Linked DNA regions of Homo sapiens: region 1 is linked to region 2. The links are contacts of gene promoters, found by promoter capture Hi-C in human tissues and cell types (Jung and others, 2019). All regions are on one chromosome and are shown on one strand. The core of a region is centred on a gene start or on the middle of the fragment in contact, and the rest is flanking DNA. Distances in the headings are between cores, read along the strand shown. Region 1 has its middle 27 kb from the start of SLC46A1. Region 2 holds the start of SLC13A2 (solute carrier family 13 member 2).

Region 1 (6,436 bases), core at 880-3,379, 39 kb after region 2:
GAGAGGACAGCTTGTTCACGTTGGAGCAGTGTGACTCATGAGGCACGTGGACGTAATTGAGGGTTATAATAACCATGCCCTCTGCTAGTGAATGTGACCCACAAAAAGGAAGTAAATCGGCCGGGCGCGGTGGCTCACGCCTGTAATCCCAGCACTTTGGGAGGACGAGATGGGTGGATCACGAGGTCGAGAGATGGAGACCATCCTGGCCAACATGGTGAAACCCCGTCTCTACTAAAAATACAAAAATTAGCGGGGTGTGGTAGCGCACACCTGTAGTCCCAGCTACTCTGGAGGCTGAGGCAGGAGAATCACTTGAGCCCAGGAGGTGGAGGTTGCAGTGAGTTGAGATCTGCCACTGCACTCCAGCCTGGGCAACAGAGTGAGACTCTGTCTCAAAAAAAAAAAAAAAAAAAAAAAAAAAAGAAGAAGTAAGTCAAGGAGGAAGGCATGAAACCCAACTCAGGAAAAAGGGAAAGAGTATTACAAGGCGATAACAAGGGAAGACCCTAGCAGTGCAGCATGTCCAGAGATCAACTAGCCTAGATTGAAGAAGATTCAAGGTCTCCTTGATGGAGGAAAATAAAGCTCTCCAAGAAATGATATGGAAGTGATGGATCACCTGATGTGACTAAACTTTTGGAAAATTGTACCAAGAGGCTTTTAAAAAATGTTTTATTTGTTCATTTTTATTTTAGAGACAGGGTCTCACTTTGTTGCCCAGGGTAGTCTCAAACTCCTTAGCTCAAGCTATTCTCCCAGCTCAGCCTCCTGAGTAGCTGGGATTACAGGTTCAAGCTGCCGGGCCTGGCTCTCAAGAGGCTCTTAGATGGTGTGAGAAGGGTTAGTGATACATACAAAGGAAACCAAGCTAATGAAAACACTAGGCAATTATTAACTTTAGGAAAAAGCCAAAACTAAGAAAGGAATCATAATCATCATATACATTACCCAACTATGAATATTTGCATGAACATTCTAATGTAAACACTGAATCTTGATTTAATTTAAAATTATAATATAATCTTATTTGATTTAAGAGAGCTAAATCTTTCCAGTATAGTTATATTGTATTCAAATTATACTCTAATACGAAGTTGATAGCTGAAGTCCAAAATTGATGAATAAAATATGAATGTGGCCGGGTGTGGTGGCTCATGCCTGTAATCCCAGCACTTTGGGAGGCGGAGGCAGGTGGATCACCTGAGGTCAGGAATTGTAGACCAGCCTGGGCAACATGGTGAAACCCCTTTTCTACACAAGTACCAAAAAAAAAAAAAATTAGCCAGGCATGATGGTGGGTGCCAGTAATTCCAGCTACTCGGGAGGCTGAGGTAGGAGAATCCCTTGAACCCAGGAGGCAGAGGTTGCGGTGAGCCAAGGTCACACCATTGCACTCCAGCCTGGACAACAAGAGCAAAACTCTGTCTCAAACAAACAAACAAACAAACCAAAAATGAATTCGAGGTTGGAAATAATTTTTCTTCAGAATTTTGAAGTTATTGCTTCATTGCCTTTCTGCTTCAAGTATCTCTTCTGGGAATTCTAAAGTCATTCTGGTTCCTGATCTTCTTGTGAAAGCTTTTTTGTTTTCATTTGGGAAACTTGAAGGTTATCTCTTTGTCTTGAAGACCCTACAATGTGACAATAATATGCACTGGAGTGGGTCTATTTTAACAATTATGCTGAACATTCTGTGGGTTCTGTCAATCTACATCCTCCAATTCTGAGACATTTTCTTGAATAATTTCATTGATGTGTTCTTCCCTTTAATTTTTATTTTCTCTCTTTTTGGATTATTTGGATTCTGGGCTTCCTGGGCTGTCTCTCTCTTTTTCCCATCTTTTCTTTTTGCTTTAGTATTTTAGGGATTTCCTCAACTTTCTCTCGAGTTTTGCATTTCTACTACCACTTTTTTTTATTATTTTAATGCTTTTTTTAATAGCATCCTGTTCTTGTTTCATAGATGTAATATTTTCTCTTATCTCTCTAATGACATTAAAAACAGGTTTTTTGTTTTGTTTTGCTGAGATAGGGTCTTGCTATGTTGCCCAGGCTGGTCTCGAACTCCTGGGCTCAAGGGATCCTCTCACTTCAGCCCTCACGAGTAGCTGGAACTACAGGTGTGTACCACTGTGCCTAATAACAGGGTTGTTTGGAAATTTGGAGGTTTTTTTCTTGTATAGTTTCTATTTCTTCTGAGTGCTTTTCCTGTTTGCTTTAGTCCCTCCCTACAATGTTAGAGGCTTATCTCAGGTCCAGGCTTATCTCATAATCCATGGTCATTTTGTTATGATTAAGAGTGGGGAGAGTGGCCGGGTGCAGCGGCTCACGCCTGTAATCCCAGCACTTTGGGAGGCCAAGGCAGGCAGATCACCTGAGGTTGGGAGTTCGAGACCAGCCTGACCAACGTGGAGAAACCCTGTCACTACTAAAAATACAAAATTAGCCGGGCGTGGTGGCACATGCCTGTAATCCCAACTACTCAGGAGGCTGAGGCAGGAGAACTGCTTGAAACTGGGAGGTGGAGGTTGCGGTGAGCTGAGATCGTACCATTGCACTCCAGCCTGGGCAATAAGAGCAAAACTCCATCTCAAAAAAAAAAAAAAAAAAGAATTGGGGAAAAATTAGATACTCTGAGTCCATGAAGTCACAGTGAGTTTCACTGTGGTGACCTGGATTGGTCATTTGTTTGGAAACCCAAAGTTTCTGTATCTTTGGGTCTTTTTTCTGTGACTGTTCATATTCCTCAGAAAAGACTCTTCTAATCTTCCAATTAAAGGATATAGGTTTCACTTTAGCATTCTGGGAGCCCAGTGGCAGAAAAGGGTTAGGGGAAGTCTTAGCTTTCAGTATGTCTACAGTCACATAATCCCAACTTGCAGCGTGTCTTCAGCTGTGCTCATCAGCCTCCCTCCAGGCAGAGACCTTCTGTTGTTCCTTCTTTCAAGAATAATCCCCCAGTCATCTGCTAGGGTTAGGAGAGGCAGTACTGCCATGGTGTGGAATACTGGAGGGGATTTGGCATCTAACTACTTCTCAGCTTTTACCTAATCCTCCTTATTTTAAATTCCTCTCTCATACCCTCTCCAATTTTAGAGTTGCCTGTAGTTTCCAATTACTAAGTATTTTGAGGATTCTATGGTGAGAATGTGGTTGGTGGCCCACTGCTGTCTCAGAATTCTTCTCTATGTTGTTAAGTCATTTGGCCCATATGTTCATGTCTTCCAAACTGTTACTGTTGTTGTCTTCCCTTCCCCAACTCTTCTCCCTTCCATTAATTTTTTAAAAATAAATATTTAAAAATATATATTGAGACCAGGCGCGGTGGCTCATGCCTGTAATCCCAGCACTTTGGGAGGCCGAGGCAGGCAAGACTTGAGGTCAGGAGTTCGAGTCCAGCCTGGCCAACATGGAGAAATCCCGTCTCTACTAAAAACACAAAAATTAGCCAGGTGTGGTGGTGGGCACCTGTAGTCCCAGATACTCGGGAGGCTGAGGCAGGAGAATTGCTTGAGCCCAGGTGGTGGAGGTTGCAGTGAGCTGAGATTGTACCACTGCACTTCAGCCTGGGAAATAGAGTGAGACTCAGTCTCAAATATATACATACATATTATATATATATATATATATTATATTATATATACATTATATATACATATATACCATATAATATATTGTATAATAATATAATATATATTGTATAATAATAATATACTATATATATATTATATATACCACTTTAAATTGGGGCTTTTGGTTGGAAGTGAGATAGATTAGTTGTGTGTGCACCTTAACTTGGAAGATTAGTTGATTTTGCATCTTAACTTGGAAATATCTTACTTTTCAAATTTAATTCTTCCTCTCCCTCTTTGGTTTGGAGGTTATAAACTCTATTTCCCCTCTTTTAGAATATTAATCATTTGACATGCATACTTTATCTAAAATCTAAAATTATTCAAGTTCTCTACCATTCTCCTCATACCAATCATCCCCTTTTGTCTCATATAGTCCATTATCTTATTTCTATCTAGTTATTTTTCATAGCTTCCCTCAAGTTAAACATTATTATTTATCTTTTGTGCAGTTAATGTTTGATATACCTACTTGCTTATCAATTCATTGGCACACAACTCCTTCTTTCATCCCAAACCTTTTTTCCAGGATCACTTATTATCCTACATGGACCTATGAATTGAATGATTTGCGTCTTTCATGAATTCTGGAAACGACTCAGCCAATACCTCTGCAAAGAGCTGGGCATGGGCAACATAGCAACACTCTGTCTCTAAACATTTTTTTAAAAGGTCTACTCTAGACGCTCCTCCTAGAATTCAGAGTAGACCTATGTTAGACTTCATACTTTATTCTATCCTGTAGGTTTTATACCTCTATTTTATTTGCCTTTGTGCTGAATTCTGAGTATTTCTTCAGCTCTATCTTCAGTTCTTCATTTCACTAATTCACTCTTCATCTGTGTCCAGTCAACACAGATGATGTTTAGCCTGTCCTCTGAATTTGGTTTACTTTTATAAAAAAGCAAAACACAACAAAGCCAAATTTATCTATCATCTATCTATTTGAGACAAGTAGGAGAGAATGGGGTGGAGGAGAGTATATGGCTAAGAGAATTTTTTAAAAGATGAGATCAATTTAGCATGCGTAAATGCTGACAGGAAGGACCTGAGAGAGAGAGAGAGAGTCCAGGTTTTCCTATTCTTCCACGTGGAGTAGATATGATCCATTAGCAACTGTTGGATCTTCTATTGTTAGGCTTGGTTCCTAATTGTGATCCACAGCATCTATTCTACCTGATTTAAGCAGAAAGAAAGTTATTGGTAGATATCAAGTGGCTCAAAGAGGGCTGGGCATGGTGGCTCATGCCCGTAATCTCAGCACTAATCCCAGCACTTTGGGAAGTCAAGGTGGGAGGATCACTTGAGCCCAGGAGTTCAAGATGTGGCAAGACCCCATCTCTACAAAAAATAAAAATGTTAGCTGGGTGTGGTGGAGTGTGCCTGTAGTCTCAACTACTTTGGAGGCTGAGGCAGGAGGATATCTTGAGTCCAGGTGGTCAAGGTTGCAGTGAGCTGTGATTATGCCACTGCACTCCAGCCTGGGTGACAGAGAAAGACTTTGTCTCAAAAACATATAAAAAAATAAATAAAACAGTGAAATCACCAACAAAAAGCACAAAAATGTAAAAACCATGGCACTAAATAGACCTTGAGGGACATATTTACATTATGAGCTGAAACAAGACAGCAAAGTGTTGCTTTGTTTGACCTCAGCTGGGAATGTGTATTGGATAACTCAAATTTTCACTACATTGTATATGACCCTGAATGACCCCAAAATGCTGAGAAAGTGTCAAGAGTATTAATTTTGAGTCACACATAAATTTTAGCAAGTAGGAGAATTTGCAAATACAAAATCTCCATGTAATGAAACTATGCTAATGTTGGAAACCATTTGGGAAAAGGGGCTCTATTTCTGCCGGGGGTTGGGCTGAGAGGACAGGACCTAAGCTGGGCACTGCCTAGTTGTAGTTCCTTCATTCTTGCTGTATGATATCCCATTGTGTGAATACCCACAATTTATTTGTCTGTTCTACCTGTGATAGACATTTGGGTTGTTTCTAGATACTTGGCTGTCTTAGTCAATACTTGACATTTTCTGTTTTTTACAAAATTTTTTTTAGCCATTCAGATGTAGTAGTATTGGACTGCGGCTTCAATTTGTACTTCTGGTGATCAATGAGATTGTACAATGTTTAATGTTTTTTAGCCATTTGGATGTTTTCTTTTGTGAAGTGTCTGTTCAAGTCCTTTGCCCATTTGTAAAAATTGGGTTTTCTATCCTTTTCATACTGATTTTTAGTTCTTTAGATATCCTGAATATGAGTTCTTTGTCAGTTAAATGTACTACAAATATCTCCTATTCTATGGCTTGCATTTTCACTCTTTTAAGGATATCTTGTGAAGAATAAAAGTTCTTTTTGTGTCCTGTTGAAATAATCTTTGCTTACTCAAAGGCTATTAAGACATACTCCTGTTTTCTTCTAAAAAGCTTTATTATGCCAGGCATGGTGGCTTACACCTGTAATCTGAGCACTTTGGGAGGCCGAGAAGGGCAAATCACCTGAGGTCAGGAGTTCAAGACCAGCCTGGCCAACATGGCGAAACCCCATCTCTAATAAAAATACAAAAATTAGCCGGGTGTGGCGGTGCATGCCTGTAGTCCCAGCTACTCAGGAGGCTGAGGCAAAAGAATAGCTTGAACCCAGGAGGTGGAAGTTACAGTGAGCTGAGATCATGCCACTGCACTCCGGCCTAGGCAACAGAGTGAGACTCTGTCTCAAAAAAAAAAAAAAAAAAAAAAAGGCCGGGCGGTGTGGCGGGCACCTGTAGTCCCAGCTACTCAGGAGGCTGAGGCA
Region 2 (6,421 bases), core at 2,819-5,318:
ATAATGTCAAGCACATAAAATATACTCAACAAATGTCAATATTATTATTATGGGCACAAATTTGAGCCTAGGCTGGGGCTCCTTCTTCCCCCTTTGGAGGCCAGGGCCATGGGGCTAAGCTTGGGGACTCATTACAGAGAGTAGAGATTCAACAGGGATGCAGGTCAGGATCCACTGTGTGCACATTCCTTCCTTTCTTCATTCAAAAAGTTGGGGGTGGCCGGGCATGGTGGCTCACGCCTGTAATCCCAGCACTTTGGGAGGCCAAGGCGGGCGGATCACGAGGTCAGGAGATCAAGACCATCCTGGCTAACACGGTGAAACCCCGTCTCTACTAAAAATACAAAAAAATTAGCCGGGCGTGGTGGCAGGTGACTGTAGTCCCAGCTACTCGGGAGGCTAAGGCAGGAGAATGGCATGAACCTGGGAGGCGGAGCTTGCAGTGAGCCAAGATTGTGCCACTGCACTCCAGCCTGGGTGACAGAGTGAGACTCAGTCTCAAAAAAAAAAAAAAAAAACAAAAAACTTGGGTGTTTTTTATTTGTTTTTTTTGAGATAGAGTCTTGCTCTGTCACCCAGACTGGAGTGCAATGGCGTGATCTCAGCTCACTGCAACCTCCTCCTCCTGGGTTCAAGCGTTTCTCCTGCTTCAGCCTCCCGAGTAGCTGGGATTACAGGTGTGCACCACCATGCTTGGCTAATTTTTGTGTTTTTTTTTATAGAGACGGGGTTTCATCATGTTGGCCAGGCTGGTCTCAAACTCCTGACCTCAAGTGATCCACCTGCCTTGGCCTCCCAAAGTGCTAGAATTATAGGCGTGAGCCACTGCGCCAGGCCTAACAAGTATTTTTTGAACATCTACTTTGTGCCAGGCACTGGGGATTCTGCATGGGACAAGACAAAGTCCCTGTCCTCACGGAGCCGACATTCTAGTGCAGGAAGCCAGAGAGGAAGTAAAAAATAAGCAAATAGATGATTTCAGAGAGTAAACACCCTATAAACAAAAGAACAGGGCTTTTCCCCAAGAATGACTGGGGTTGGTCAGAGAAGGCTTTTCTAAGGAGGTGGATTTAAGCTGAAACCTAAAAACAGGAAGGAGGTATCTGGGAGAGCAGTCCAGAGCAATGTGAGGAGCAGAAAGAAAGCTGGTGAGGGTGGGGGAGAGTGAGCGAGAGGTGGGTCACAGGGGGAGGGAGCCTGGGGAGTCCAGGGCTGAGCCTTGGTGACTTCTGGCTGCTTGAAGAGGTTTTATCCTAAGTTTGACAGGAAGCCAGTGTAGGGTTTTTTTGTTTGTTTGTTTTTTCAAATTAAGGTGGGGTCTCATTATGTTGCCCAGGCTGGTCTCAAACTCCTGGGCTCAAGCAATTCTCCCGCCTCGTCCTCACAAAGTGCTGGGATTATAGGTGTGAGCCACTGCGCCTGGCCAATGTAGGGTTTTGAGCAGAGTGGGACACATGGGAAATGACCGGGGAGACAGTGGATCCGAGGGCGGGGAGTGACTCCATTCAGAGTATTTTGGGGTATCAAATGAGCAGGACCTTCTGCTGCACGTGGAAAGGAGGGAAGGAGAAGAATCAAGAATGCCCCCGAGTTTTTGGCTGTTGCAGCAAGGTAGATGGTTGAAGCATTTCTTGATGCCTAAGCCAACTGGAGAAGGGCAGGAAGGGTTTTGGTTTGGACGTGGAAAAGTGTAACCTGCTTATCCTGCTTACAAAGAAAATATTCAATTAGGGAGATGGCTGGTGTTCATTGGATAATACCAGTTTAGAGTTTAGGGCTGGGGTTACAGATTGATAACTCATTGGCATAGAGATGCTTTTTAAAGCACGAGATGGCATAAGATCAGCTAGGGGAAGTGGGGACCCTGGAAAACCTCAGAGTCAGATGGAGAAGGAACCTCAGAGTCAGGAAAGGTGGGAAGGGGCAGGGCTGGGCAGGAACCAGGAGAAGGTGTCACCAAAGCCAAGAGAAGACAGCACGGCAAAGACGGGGTGACAGCTGTGACAAATGCTGCCGAGGGACTGAGGAATGTGAGGGTGGCCCAGGGTTTGGTCACAAGGAAGTTGATGGGATCTGAGTCTTGGAGATGGGAGCTGACAAAAGAGAAAGTGCGCTTGTGGTGTAGACAGTGTCTTGAGACTTCCTGTTATGAGAGAGAGCAGAGAAAGAGGCACTATCCTGGAAGGAGCGTGGCCTTGAAAGAGAGCTCTTGTTTGTTTAAGATGAGAGATATTACAGCACCTCCGTATGTGGATGGGGGAGATCAGGCAGAGAGGAAATATTTATCTTGTAGGAGAGTGAGAGGACAATTGCAGGAGCAAAGTCCTTGAGAGGGGCTGGCCTCTCCTAGACAGGACCAGAGTCAGGATGGGGCTGGCAGCATCTGTGAGCCAGAGGCAGGTAGCAGGGCCAGATACGGTGCACAGAAGACAGGGGCTCCTAACACATCCCAGTCTCACCAACAGGCATGGCTTCTAGCACTGACTCAGGATTTCCTGTGTGACCTGGGCAAGTTACTGAATCTTTCTGTGCTGTGCTTCCCCAGGTCGAGGGGAATTGGGAAGAAATCAAAATCCCTGTCTGGCTTCCCTCCTGGGGTTAACACACTTGCCCCAGCCTGTCGGAAAACCCATCTGATGGGTCCCTAGCACTGAGATGCCACCGGCTTTGGCCTGAGATGAAGGTCATCTCAAAGGTCAGCTGGGCCTTGTTACTGACCAGGTGTCAGGGGCCCAGGGGCTGTGCCACTATCACCCCCAGTCTCTCACCCCTTTGGGATACCATGAACAAAAAAGTCTGACTCAATTTCTCTATCTATGACAAAAGGAAGAAAATGGCTTGATGGGCAGTTCTGGGGGTGTGGGGTGGGGCAGGAGGCAGCAGGGTGGAGAGAAGACATGCTTTGGCACCAGATCACACCCCCAGCTCTGAACCTCCCAGCTGTGTGATTTGCCAGAGGCCGACTGACTGAAGATTGAACTTCAAGGCCTTCCCCCTGGACCCTTCCCAAAGCCCCAAACTAATTTCAGATTAATACTTTTGTGTCCTTTTTCTTACAGAGTGGGGCCCAAAAGTGTATAATATCCAAGTTCCATGAAACTTGGATCTGCCCTGGGACTTTGACTAAGTGACTTAACCTCACCTTCCCCATTTGTCAAATGGGACAGTCAGGCCTGACCTCTTAAGATGGTGGAAAAGGTTACTGGGTGCCTAGGGCAGGGCAGGCATTGGCGGCTTGATTTAATGAGAGATGAAGTTATGACTTCTGCTGGGGGCGGAGGAGGAGGCAGTGACGCCTGGTTGTGCCCAGCTCCCCCTCCATCCAGGGCACAGTTTTTGTGCTGTCTACCTGCAGCGGTCCCCTCTTCCAACTCCCACCCCTCCTCCTCCACAGACTTAGCCCTTGAATCCACAGGTGAACTCTTTCTCTTCCTGTTTATGCTCTTAAAGATGCAGACCGCCTGCAGCCAGCTTTCTCCTATTCTCCTTCCAACCCTCTTCACTCTGCTGCTGCTTACCCAGCCGTCCCCTCCCCACAGCCAGCCCATCTCAGCCGCCATGGAGCCCAGTCCAGGGCTAGGTGGGCACACAGTAGGTAGATCAGCTCCATCTGCCCCCCTTGCATCTTGTTGATGGAACTGGTTTCCTGTTTCCTAGGGCAGTAGGTTGCAAACCCACCTAAGTAATTCACGCTGGGCTCCTACAACTGGGTGCCAAGCAAAAGCCCCTTTGACCTCCTAGCCCTCAGTCCTCAGGAGGAGCAGGGGGCGATAGCCTCACTTCCAGGGCAGGGGCAGTGAGGAAGTTATGCTGGATCCTAAGGATGCCCAACCCCGGCCCAGACAGTCCCTCCTCTGCCCCCTGGAGTTATCTGTGCTCAGAACACCAAGTCCTTACCTTACTGGGGACGAGGATGGGCAGAGGCAGCAGGAGAATGGGCACGAAGAACACGATCAGGTAGGAGCGATAGGCCCACAGGGCCTGCCAGCAGGTGGCCATGGTGTGGAGCAGCAAGGGCTGCTACAGCCACTGCCTCCAGGAGCTGGGTAACAGAAGGACCAAAGATGCAGCCAAGCAGGCAGGTGGCAGGCTTATATAAAGCCAGTTGAGTGTTAACCATTGACCCAGTCTGGCAATCAGAGTGTTTTTGGAGTTGGGGAGGTGAGAGTAAGGAGGAGGGACCCACAGGCGGAGTAAAGATCAGGAAGGGAGAGGGAGAAGGAAGGAGGAAAGAACAAGGATTAAAAAACTTCAGGTTCCTTCAAGAAGTTAATCCCAGCGTTAACTCCTTCTGTTCTTGGAGGCTGCTGAGGGTGGTGCTGGAGGAGCTGGAGAAGGAAGGAGAGTCCCCCAGCCACCCTCCACAGGCAGCCCCCAAGCCACCTCCGCTGGCCCGGCCTTTCCTTTCTGCTGTTCTCCAAAGCTAGGTTCTCAGCTGAGCACTTTATGTGACAGCCTGGGTGGGGTGGCCCTGCCCTGCCCACAGAGATGCCCTAGGAATTTTCAGTCTAAGATTGACAGTAGCTAAGGCCTGGAGCAAGTCCTCCTCCTCCTCCTTCCAGGTATCGAGGACCATCAAAGTCCCTGGTCCTGACTACATCTTGTGTGACACTGATCCACCGACTTAACCTCTCAGAATTAGCCACTTCCTTATTCTGCAGTAATATCTTGCTATTGTGAGGCTCAAATTAGACAACTTATATATGTTGAGCTTTGATGCATGGCAGGTGTACGATGAAGGTTAGTTTCTTTCAGGCTCTTCCTAGCCCCCTCGCCCCCCAGCAAAGATTGTCTCTTATTTTGGAAACATACTAGATCTCTCATTTATCCATCATCCATCCATCCATCCATCCATCCATCCAACCATCCATCCATCCATCCCTCCACCAAGCAAGTATTTAGTACCAATTATGTATTCAGCCCTGTGCTCAGTGCTAAAGATACAGAGATTAAAATGCTGCTGCTGCTGCTGGTGGTAAAGACTGACATTTGCTCAGCACTTAGTACAAGTCAGTTACTGTACTTCATCAACTCGGTAACTACACCATGGGTTAGGTGTTACTATTCCATTTAACAGATGGGGGAACTGAGGCCAAAGGACATGGAGCCAGCCAGAATTCACACATGCATTATGGGTATCCTGAGGGAGGTCCAAACCAGGGCAGAAGCTCTGGGTGAAAGGCACCAGGCAAGGGCTCCTGGAAGAGATGGCATCTGAGCGAAGGCTTGAGAGCTCAGTCTTACTTGGCACGAGGTGATAGGGGAAGGGGCACAAGGAGAGGGAAGAGTGAACGAAGGCCTGGAGGGTGGCAAGTGCATGCGTGTGTGTGTGTATGTATGTTGAACGGAGCAAGTTGTAGTTTGGAAGAAATTGTGGGTCTTATCTCTGGCCAGACCCTCAGTCTCCTGGCGCCCTCACCCCTCCTCACCCTGACTGCACGCAGTTGAAGGTCAATGCATGTTTCTGAGGTTATCAGAGTATGATGATCCGTGTGTGCTAGGATAAGGAGGCGGGGTATCAGGGAGAATGTTTCAGGCAGCGAAGACAGTCTGGGAAGAGATGCAGAAGCGTGGGGACGTTTAGAGAACAGAAGGTTCTGCGTGGTTGGAATGTGGATTTGCGGGGGACAGGATTAAGAGCTGATAACTATAGTTTTAGGTGTACCATAGCATGGCCTGGGCTGTTATGCCACCGAGACACTCCTGGAGCCAGTGGATCTTTTAGAGAAAGGCCCCTGGTGCTTTCTGCAGGGCGGTCCTAGAGGTCAGAGGGATCCAGTTCGAGGGCTCCTGGAGCGAGGCCAGGCTGGTGGGATGCTACAGTAACAGAGTACAGGCTAGCCACCCCAGCCCCCCTTCAGGCATGGCTCCTTCACTCCCACACAGTGGCCTGCCACCTGCCCAGGGCAAAGTAAGCAAGAGCCAGGAAGGACAGGGAGAGACAAAGGGTTTCAGACACTCAGGACAATGCCCCGATTCTATCTCACCTTGGTGGAAGCCTCTCCCATGGCCTGAGGCTTTTAAGGAGCCACAAAAAAAAAAAAAAAAAAAAAAACCAGGCCCAGCTTCACCATGTGTAAAATCTGCATCCCAGTTTACCTAACTCTCCATACCAATTCTGTGATGTAGGCTCAGGGCAGTGAGGTTACTCGTCTAGAGTCACACACCTTGTGAGTAACAGAGAGAATGCAGATTTGTTTCCAGGAAGGCTGTGCCCTTGGCTCAGCCCTCCATTCTCTGGTCTCCTTTGATGGAGCTGGGACAAAACTCAATGTTTTACTGAGACCCTCTGGCTTCCCCCTACAGCCCTCTTCTAAGACATAGGCTTTTGGGACCTTCTTTGATTCTTTTTTGAGGCCCAGCACTGGGGGGCTATTGCATCACCAGCAGCCAGGCCCCATCAGTGATGAATTCATCTCAA

What was found. Contacts are between HindIII fragments. The study calls those that stand out against the background at their distance.
Region 1: a contact is called between a fragment that was not itself captured here and the fragment with the promoter of SLC13A2 in region 2, in 3 of the 25 tissues and cell types used here (IMR-90 fibroblasts, dorsolateral prefrontal cortex and stomach).

What each region holds. Positions count from the first base shown.
Region 1 is chr17:28,430,367-28,436,802 of GRCh38, reverse strand. No RefSeq gene overlaps it. Among named protein-coding and RNA genes, the nearest start is that of SLC46A1, 27 kb to the right of the region's middle. The HindIII fragment of the contact is 3,392 bases long and covers 434-3,825 here.
Region 2 is chr17:28,471,291-28,477,711 of GRCh38, reverse strand. It overlaps SLC13A2 (solute carrier family 13 member 2), which reads right to left and starts at 4,068. Exons shown (of 12, transcript NM_003984.4): 1 at 3,898-4,068. The coding sequence starts at 3,999. The HindIII fragment of the contact is 27,138 bases long and covers 1-6,421 here.